2 separate regions of the Homo sapiens genome follow, and region 1 is linked to region 2. Evidence: promoter capture Hi-C in human tissues and cell types (Jung and others, 2019). All regions are on one chromosome and are shown on one strand. Each heading gives the region's core, a stretch centred on a gene start or on the middle of the fragment in contact. The rest is flanking DNA. Distances are from core to core; before and after follow the strand shown.

Region 1 (3,831 bases), core at 1,098-3,597, 1.8 Mb after region 2:
CCAGCACTTTGGGAGGCCGAGGCAGGTGGTTCACTTGAGCCCAAGTTTCAGACTAAACTAAAGTTTAGTTTAGCCTGGAGACAAAGATACGATGCAGGTAGTTTATTTTGGAGGTTCTGCCAAATTGCCAAGATGAGGAGTCAGGGAGAGCAAGGGGAGAAGGAAAAGGCTGCATTAATGAGGTCAACATTGAGAGTAACTGGGGCTTAATCCTGCCTGGAACATTCCAGCCAGAATACCTGAAACTTGAGCCCAAGTTTCAGACCAACATGGCGAAACCCTGTCTCTACAAAAAATACAAAAGTTAGCCAAGCGTGGGTGCCCGTGCTTGTAGTCCCAGCTGCTGGGGAGGCTAAGGTGGGAGGATCACTTGAGCCCAGGAGGTCGAGGCTGCAGTGAGCTGAGATCAGGCCACTGCACTCCAGCCTGGGTGACAAACCTAGATCCTCAAAAAAAAAAAAAAAAAAAAAAAAGCAGAAGTGACTGGTGAGAGAAGTTATGGAAGCTGCAAAATCCCTTGCAGGCTTGATTTTGTTTTGTTTTTTGAGATGGAGTCTCACTCTGTCACTCAGGCTGGAGTGCAATCTTGGCTCACTGCAACCTCGTCCTCCTGGGTTCAAGTGATTCTCCTGTCTCAGCCTCCCGAGTAGCCGGGACTACAGGAGCGCACCACCATGTCTGGCTAATTTTCGTATTTTTAGTAGAGACAAGGTTTCACCATGTTGGCCAGGCTGGTCTTGAACTCCTAACCTCAAGGGATCCACCCGCCTCGGCCTCCCAAAGTGCTGGGATTACAGGCATGAGCTACCACGCCCGGCCCTCCTGGGTATTTTTTATGATTTAAATGTTTTCATGAGTTTGCCCCACTAAGGTAAGAAAATGAACTAATGGATATCAGCAAGACTTTTAAACAGCAAGCTTTGGCTTGTAAACAGTTTGGGTTGAACCTGGAGTATACCAGGAAATTCAGTTAACTATAAAACGCCTTCGCTGACGTGTGAAGGCAAGTCTGATGGTAATTTTTTTTTAAGTGCAGCACATTGGAAATTCCTGAGGGGGCAACAAGATGTTTCCCCATGTGGCAGCTTAAAACTTCCTGGAGTATGTAGTCCTCACCTCTGAGAGTAACCTCAAAATCAGATAGGACTTCTACAATAGCAAATACTTCAGGTTAAAGATGATTAGCTGGATGCTTGGAAAAAGGGAGCTGAGGAAAAAGAGATACAGAAATGGTTCTAGAGAAGGAAGAGAAAAAATTATTTTAAAAAATAATTGCCACATGATCCAGCAACCTTAATTCTGAGTATATACCCAAAGGAAATGAAATCAGTGTATTTAAGGAATATCTGCATTCCCCTGTTCATTATAGCACTATTCGCAATAGGCAAGATGGGAAATCAACCTATCTATTAGCAGACAAATGAATAAAGATAATGTAAATAGTACGCACAATGGAATACTATTCAGCCTTTAAAAAAGAAGAAAATCCTGTCATTTGCAATAACATGGATGAACCTGGAGGACATTACATTAAGTGAAATAAGACAAACAAAGAAGGACAAACACCACATGATCTCACTTATACGTGGAATCTGAAAAAGGTGAATTCATAGAAGTAGAGAGGAGAACAGTGGGGTTTGTAGGGGGATTGGGGGGATGTTGGTCCAAGGTTACAAAATTTTAGGTAGACAGGAGAAATAAATTCAACAGATCCCCTGTACAACATAGTGACTATAGTTAATAACAATGTATTATATTCTTGACTATCACAAAAAAAAGTGTTCTCATCACCAGAAAAAAAAATGATAAATATGTGAGGTAATGTACATGTTAATTAGCTTGGTTTAGCCATTCCACAATATATACATATTCCAAACATGTTGTGTATGATAAATATATATAATTTTTACTTGTTAATTTAAATAAAGATATCAAAAACTGGATAAAGATGGCAAAGTGAACACAAATGCTATTCTCTATCATAACCCAAATACCTTTAAAGTGACAGAAAAAAACGTATTTTTAAATAATAACATTTATAACAATCTTGGCAAAAATAAACAGCATCGTTAACAGAAATCTTAAAGAATTCCTGGAAGTTAGGGAGAAATCAGATTTATAATGAAACCACAGCAACAGAAAACTGCCATCCGAAACACTAAGATGTTCGTGGAAAAAAAGGATGACAAGATAATGCACAAAGCAGGTATTTAATATTACTGACAGCGGATTAATATCCAGAATATATAAAGAATATCTAGGAATCAATAAAAGGCTGGGCGCAGTGGCTCACACCTGTATTCCCAGCACTTTGGGAGGCCGAGGCAGGTGGATCACTTGAGCTCAGGAGTTCGAGACCAGCTTGGCCAACATGGTGAAACCCTGTCTCTGCTAAAAATACAAAAATTAGCCAGGCATGGTGGTGTGCGCCTGTAGTCCCAGATACTCCAGAGGCTAAGGCAGGAGAATCCCTTGAACCCGAGAGGCAGAGGTTGCAGTGAGCCGAGATCACGCCACTGCACTCCAGCCTGGGAGACAGGGCGAGACTCTCTCTCTCAAAAAAAAAAAAAAAGAATCAATAAAGGTTTTTAAAGTACCCACAGAAAAATGGGCAACAAACACAAATAGGAATTTCAAAGACAAAACACAAATGCCCAATAAACATATTGGGACACAACCTCAGCAGTAATCAGAGAAATGCCAATTAAAAGCAATGCCTGCCAGGCATGGTGGCTCTCACACCTATAATCCTAGCACTTTGGGAGGCCAAGGCGAGCCTATCGCTTAAGGCCAGGAGTTCCAGACCAGCCTGGGTAACATGGTGAAACCTCATCTCCACTAAAAATACAAAAATTAGCTGGGTGTGGTGGCGGGCGCCTGTAATCCCAGCTACACAGGAGTCTGAGGCAGGAGAATCGCTTGAACCCAGGAGGCGGAGGTTGCAGTGAGCCAAGATCACACCACTGCACTCCAGCCTGGGTGACAGAGTCTCAAAAAAAAAAAAAAAAAAAAGGCTGCGCACGGTGGCTCATGCCTATAATCACAGCACTTTGGGAGGCTGAGGTGGGCAGATCACCTGAGGTCAGGAGTTCGAGACCAGTCTGAACAACATGGCAATACCCTATCTCTACTAAAAATACAAAAACAATTAGCTGGGCATGGTGGCACACACCTGTAATCCCAGCTACTCGGGAGGCTGAGGCAGGAGAATCGCTTGAACCCAGGAGGCAGAGGTTGCAGTGAGCTGAGATCACACCACTGCACTCCAGCCTGGGCAACAGAGTGAGACTCCGTCTAAAAAAAAAAAAAAAATTCTAATTGTATAAGATTATAGATCTGCCAAAGTCTCAAGAGGAGAGTTCAGTGCTCACACTTGATTCCCTTTCTCCTTTGAAATGAAAATTTCAAATAATACAAAGCACAAGGAAGAAAATAGTAACCTAAGGTGGAACATCTAAAAGCCAAACTGCAAATGAATGATATGGTAACAAAAGGAAAAGGTACCAGAGAAGCTGAAAGCAGTCTAGGGGTAAAGAGGAGGGGACAGTGTCTCTCCATTATACACACTAAGTCTCCTGACCTCAGGAAATAACCACGTGCTGCGGTTGGCTCCCATGATCCTTGCTATTGTTAAACACTGTATGGATGCATACGAGAGACAATAAGACAAGAAAAAATATATAAGATATAAATCATAGAAATAAAGAAGCAATGCTAGAAAATCTAGAAGCGGCACCCTAGAAAGCAACCTAGAAAATCCAACATAGCAACTAAAAATCTATGAAAATAATAGAATTCGGCAGTTTAGCCAGACAAAAGAACAAACAGAAC
Region 2 (3,817 bases), core at 167-2,666:
TTAAGCCCCTGAAAATTTTAGTTACAGACGGTAGTAACATACTACTATCTGTTGAACACACCATACTTGGAAGGTGGTCCAAAGATTTACATATTTATTAAAAGCGTACGTATATTTGGGAGACGAATAGTCATTGAACTGGATGTCATAGCTTAGGGTCTTGTTCGGAGATTCTGGAAGAAAATTTCAATTCTTAAAAGTAAACAGATGAAACATCAAGAAATTTAAAAGAGGTTATTCAGGCAAATCACTTATCTTAAGAAATAAAGTCAAGAAAAATACTTCGTGAGGTTGAAAAGGAATTTCTGCAAAGAAGGAAGCCACTGGTAAAGTACACTTTCAAGAACATGGTGGGGAAGAGACTGGATTAAAGTAGTAAGGGATGCATCTTCTAAGAGGAATAAAAGACCTTGATCACATGATCTACCTAAAAAACAAGTCACAAAATATTACTTACCCTTACTGTGTGGGATGCAAATTTTTATTCCCTTCCCGCCCCCGACATTCTATAATATTGCGTAATTATTATGCATGTGTTTTACGCTGGTCACCACGCGGTAAACCGAATCCACAACCCATTATTATGTCGCAACCTATGGTTTAAAAATACACTTCCTTACAGAGGAATCATATACTAGTTGAGCTGGAACTTAGATTTTCAGTCATTAGCCAAATTCTGAAAAGAATCCATATAACAAACCCAGCAGAGTTTATAGCCATGGTTTTGTTTTTGACGTTTGTTGCTCCTTCCTTCTGTAGTCTTTCATCCACATCTATGTAGAACGTCCTGACAATCTGCGAAGAGAAGGCTCTAAGGTGGTTTTATTTGTGGGGAAAGGAGGGAGGTACATGCGGTTTCTCCACCTTAATAGCTGGATCAATTAGGCTGGCCCCGGAGCGCAAAGGGATCCGGGTTTCTGAGAGGCACGTGCCAGCACCATTCGCCCGATACCTCTAGACCAAAGCCGGCCTCCCCTCCAGCCGAGCTCCTCCGTCCTAAAGGACTCGACATCCCCCTCCTCCAGGCCCACACCCCTCAGCCCCGGAGCCCAGGCCCCGCCTCTCCCTGCGGAACCCCTTCCCAACCTGTACGACCAGGCCCCAACTCTGGGTCGAAGCACCTCGCCCCTGCCGGCCGAGGCCCCCCACCTTCTTCCGAACAGCCCCTTGCCCCCCGCGAAGGGGCAGCCGTAGCTCCCAGCCGAGCTCCCCCGCTCCTGGCCCCGGTCCCCGACCCCGCCCCAGGCCCCCGACCCCGCCCCTGCCGGCCGAAGACCCCGCCCCTGCCGGCCGAGGACCCCGCCCCTGCCGGCCGAGGACCCCGCCCCTGCCGGCCGAGGACCCCGCCCCTGCCGGCCGAGGACCCCGCCCCTGCCGGTGGCTGCGGTAGCTGCTGCGCGCTGAGGCGCCTGCTCAGTGTGGGACGCGGAGAGCGAGGGGCGGCGGCGGCGCCCGCTGGCGCTCAAGCATGGCGGCGGCGGCATTGGGCAGCTCCTCAGGCTCGGCGTCCCCGGCCGTGGCTGAGCTCTGCCAGAACACCCCGGAGACCTTTTTGGAGGCCTCCAAGCTGCTGCTCACCTATGCTGACAACATCCTCAGGTGCAGGGCAACGGGGTCGGACGGCGGGTACCGGGGTGGGTGGGCCGCGGCACCTTGTTCGGCCAGGGACTGGGGCGTCCGGCCTGAGCTTCAGAGGGCAGCGACGCCCGGACAGACCGGGACCTGGAGCTGGTTCTGCTCCTAACGTCCGAGCCCGCCGGCCAGGGGCCTCGGGACCCGGCCAAGTCCCACCCCCGCTCGAGAAAAGGAAGTTTCTTTGCAGTTGTGACTTGGCACCTGCAGTCAGGGTGCTGCGGGTGAACTGGAGTCCCGGAAGCGGGGCCGGGCGGAGGAGAGGTAGGAAGGCGTGCTTCAGACACTGCCGCTCTTCTCGTCGTTTAACGGCCTCAGATATCGGGACACAACGGTAACCGCACCGCGCGTGTCATTCCCCCTGCGTGCATTTTTCGAGCGGAGTGGCTTACATTTCCACATACTTATCAGAAGTTACTCACTGACAAAGTGATGTTTTCTTCCCATGTTGAGACTATCCGAGTACTAAAGCATAATGCTTCTGAAGTGGTGGGTTTTAAAATTTTTAATTTTTTTTCTGCCCACTTTTGTTGATTGAAACATTATAGTATTTTGAAGTTACAGTTTTTATATTAATACCTGGATTCTACTATGTAACATAACCCTTTAAGAATTCGTGGAGGTAATCGCCTTGGATGAGAGTAATTTCCTTCATTCTCCTGTCAGCAAAATTGCACTTCTAGAGGTCTAAGGGACCTTGCAGATTTTGGGAATTGGGAGGCAAGTTTGATTATTCATTTTGAATAAGTACCCACCTCAACTCTTCAGATCAAATGATCTGAAGGGACATGGTGTGGGGGGGTAGGGAAATGGAACTGAGGTTAAAGGAGAGCCACTTGCTTTAGGGGTGTTACCTCATTTATCAGGTCACCGTGATTAATTAGGTTCTCTGTTCCCCTCAGCCCCTGGTGCATTAAGTGTTTGGTATATTGTCATGAAGTCTAAAAGGAAATTCTCAGTTTCAAGGTTATAGGTTTCACGTGACCCAATTTTAGACATTAGTTACATGTGCAGTTTTTAAAATCCATGTCAGTAATATTTCATTTAGGCAATGGTAATGATTTTTAAAGTAAATTGAAGGGAAAATATATTGAGCCCTTATTTTGTGGCAGATGCTATGAAAGATGCAACATGTGGCCTGTTCACAGCTACATAATTGTGACCTGTGTGGGGACCACCTTCGTGCTCTGTGACACCTTCTCAACTCACCTTTTTTACTCTTTGAGGCCTTACAGCTCTTCACAGTACAAGGATGCCAAGGGACTCCATAAATGAACTGATAGGCTGGGTTCTCCAGAGCCCATTAGCTGAGACTTACCACCTGGAAAGCCACCAGGCTATTTAAAACCCCACTAGTCAGAAAAGAGAGGTGGCCTTGTAATGAAGCCTCACTTCTGCTTTAAATCTAGTGAAACCCAAAATGCTGAGGTTTAGTATGAGGGGGAAACCTTTGCATGCAAATAATGACATTTAGCATCATAATCTTCATTATGAATGTTTACTAATGGCTCGTTGCTGATTTTCGTTTTTGAGACGGAGTTTGCTCTTGTTGATGAGGCTGGAGTGCAGTGGCGCGATCTTGACTCACTGCAACCTCCGCCTCACAGCTTCAAGATTCTGAAAGATGAGGGGTGTGACAATGAGCGCAAAGGATAGTGGACACACTGGAATAATGCTGAGAAATTAAGAGTTTAAGAAAGTCTTTGTGCGTTGCTTTTCCAAGGATAGGAAAGAGGATATGATGGGTTTGAAGTCTAATGTCCCTACAGCCCTCTAAGTCTTTGAGGGCTTTAGGGTCAGGCCTTTGGTATCAGTCTATACACAAAACCACGGTCAGTTTACTCAACATACTTAATAAGAAAAAGAATTTGAGGAACTGGATGTGACTGTCATTGCTGGAGCCTGTTTGCAGTATACTTTTACTGAGAAAAATAGATTAATGTGAGGTCCAGAGATGATATAAAAATAAAATTGCTCACTGGGCACGGTGGCTCACACCTGTAACCCCAGCACTGTGGGAGGCCAAGGTGGGCGGATTGCTTGAGCTTAGGAGTTTGAGACCAGCCTGGGCAACATGGCTAAACCCCGTCTCTACAAAAAAATTAAAAAATTAGCCAAGCGTGGTGGCAGACACCTGTAGTCCCAGCTACTTGGAGGGCAGAGGTGGGAGGATGGCTTGAGCCCA

Evidence for each region. Contacts are between HindIII fragments. The study calls those that stand out against the background at their distance.
Region 1: a fragment that was not itself captured here is called in contact with the fragment with the promoter of NGLY1 in region 2 in 1 of the 25 tissues and cell types used here (dorsolateral prefrontal cortex).

Annotation. Positions count from the first base shown.
Region 1 is chr3:24,007,699-24,011,529 of GRCh38, reverse strand. No RefSeq gene overlaps it. Among named protein-coding and RNA genes, the nearest start is that of NR1D2, 64 kb to the right of the region's middle. The HindIII fragment of the contact is 4,726 bases long and covers 1-3,831 here.
Region 2 is chr3:25,781,042-25,784,858 of GRCh38, reverse strand. It overlaps NGLY1 (N-glycanase 1), which reads left to right and starts at 1,416. Exons shown (of 12, transcript NM_018297.4): 1 at 1,416-1,599. The coding sequence starts at 1,469. RefSeq lists a silencer at 1,227-1,466 and enhancers at 1,777-1,826, 1,987-2,066, 3,454-3,623. The HindIII fragment of the contact is 13,519 bases long and covers 1-3,817 here.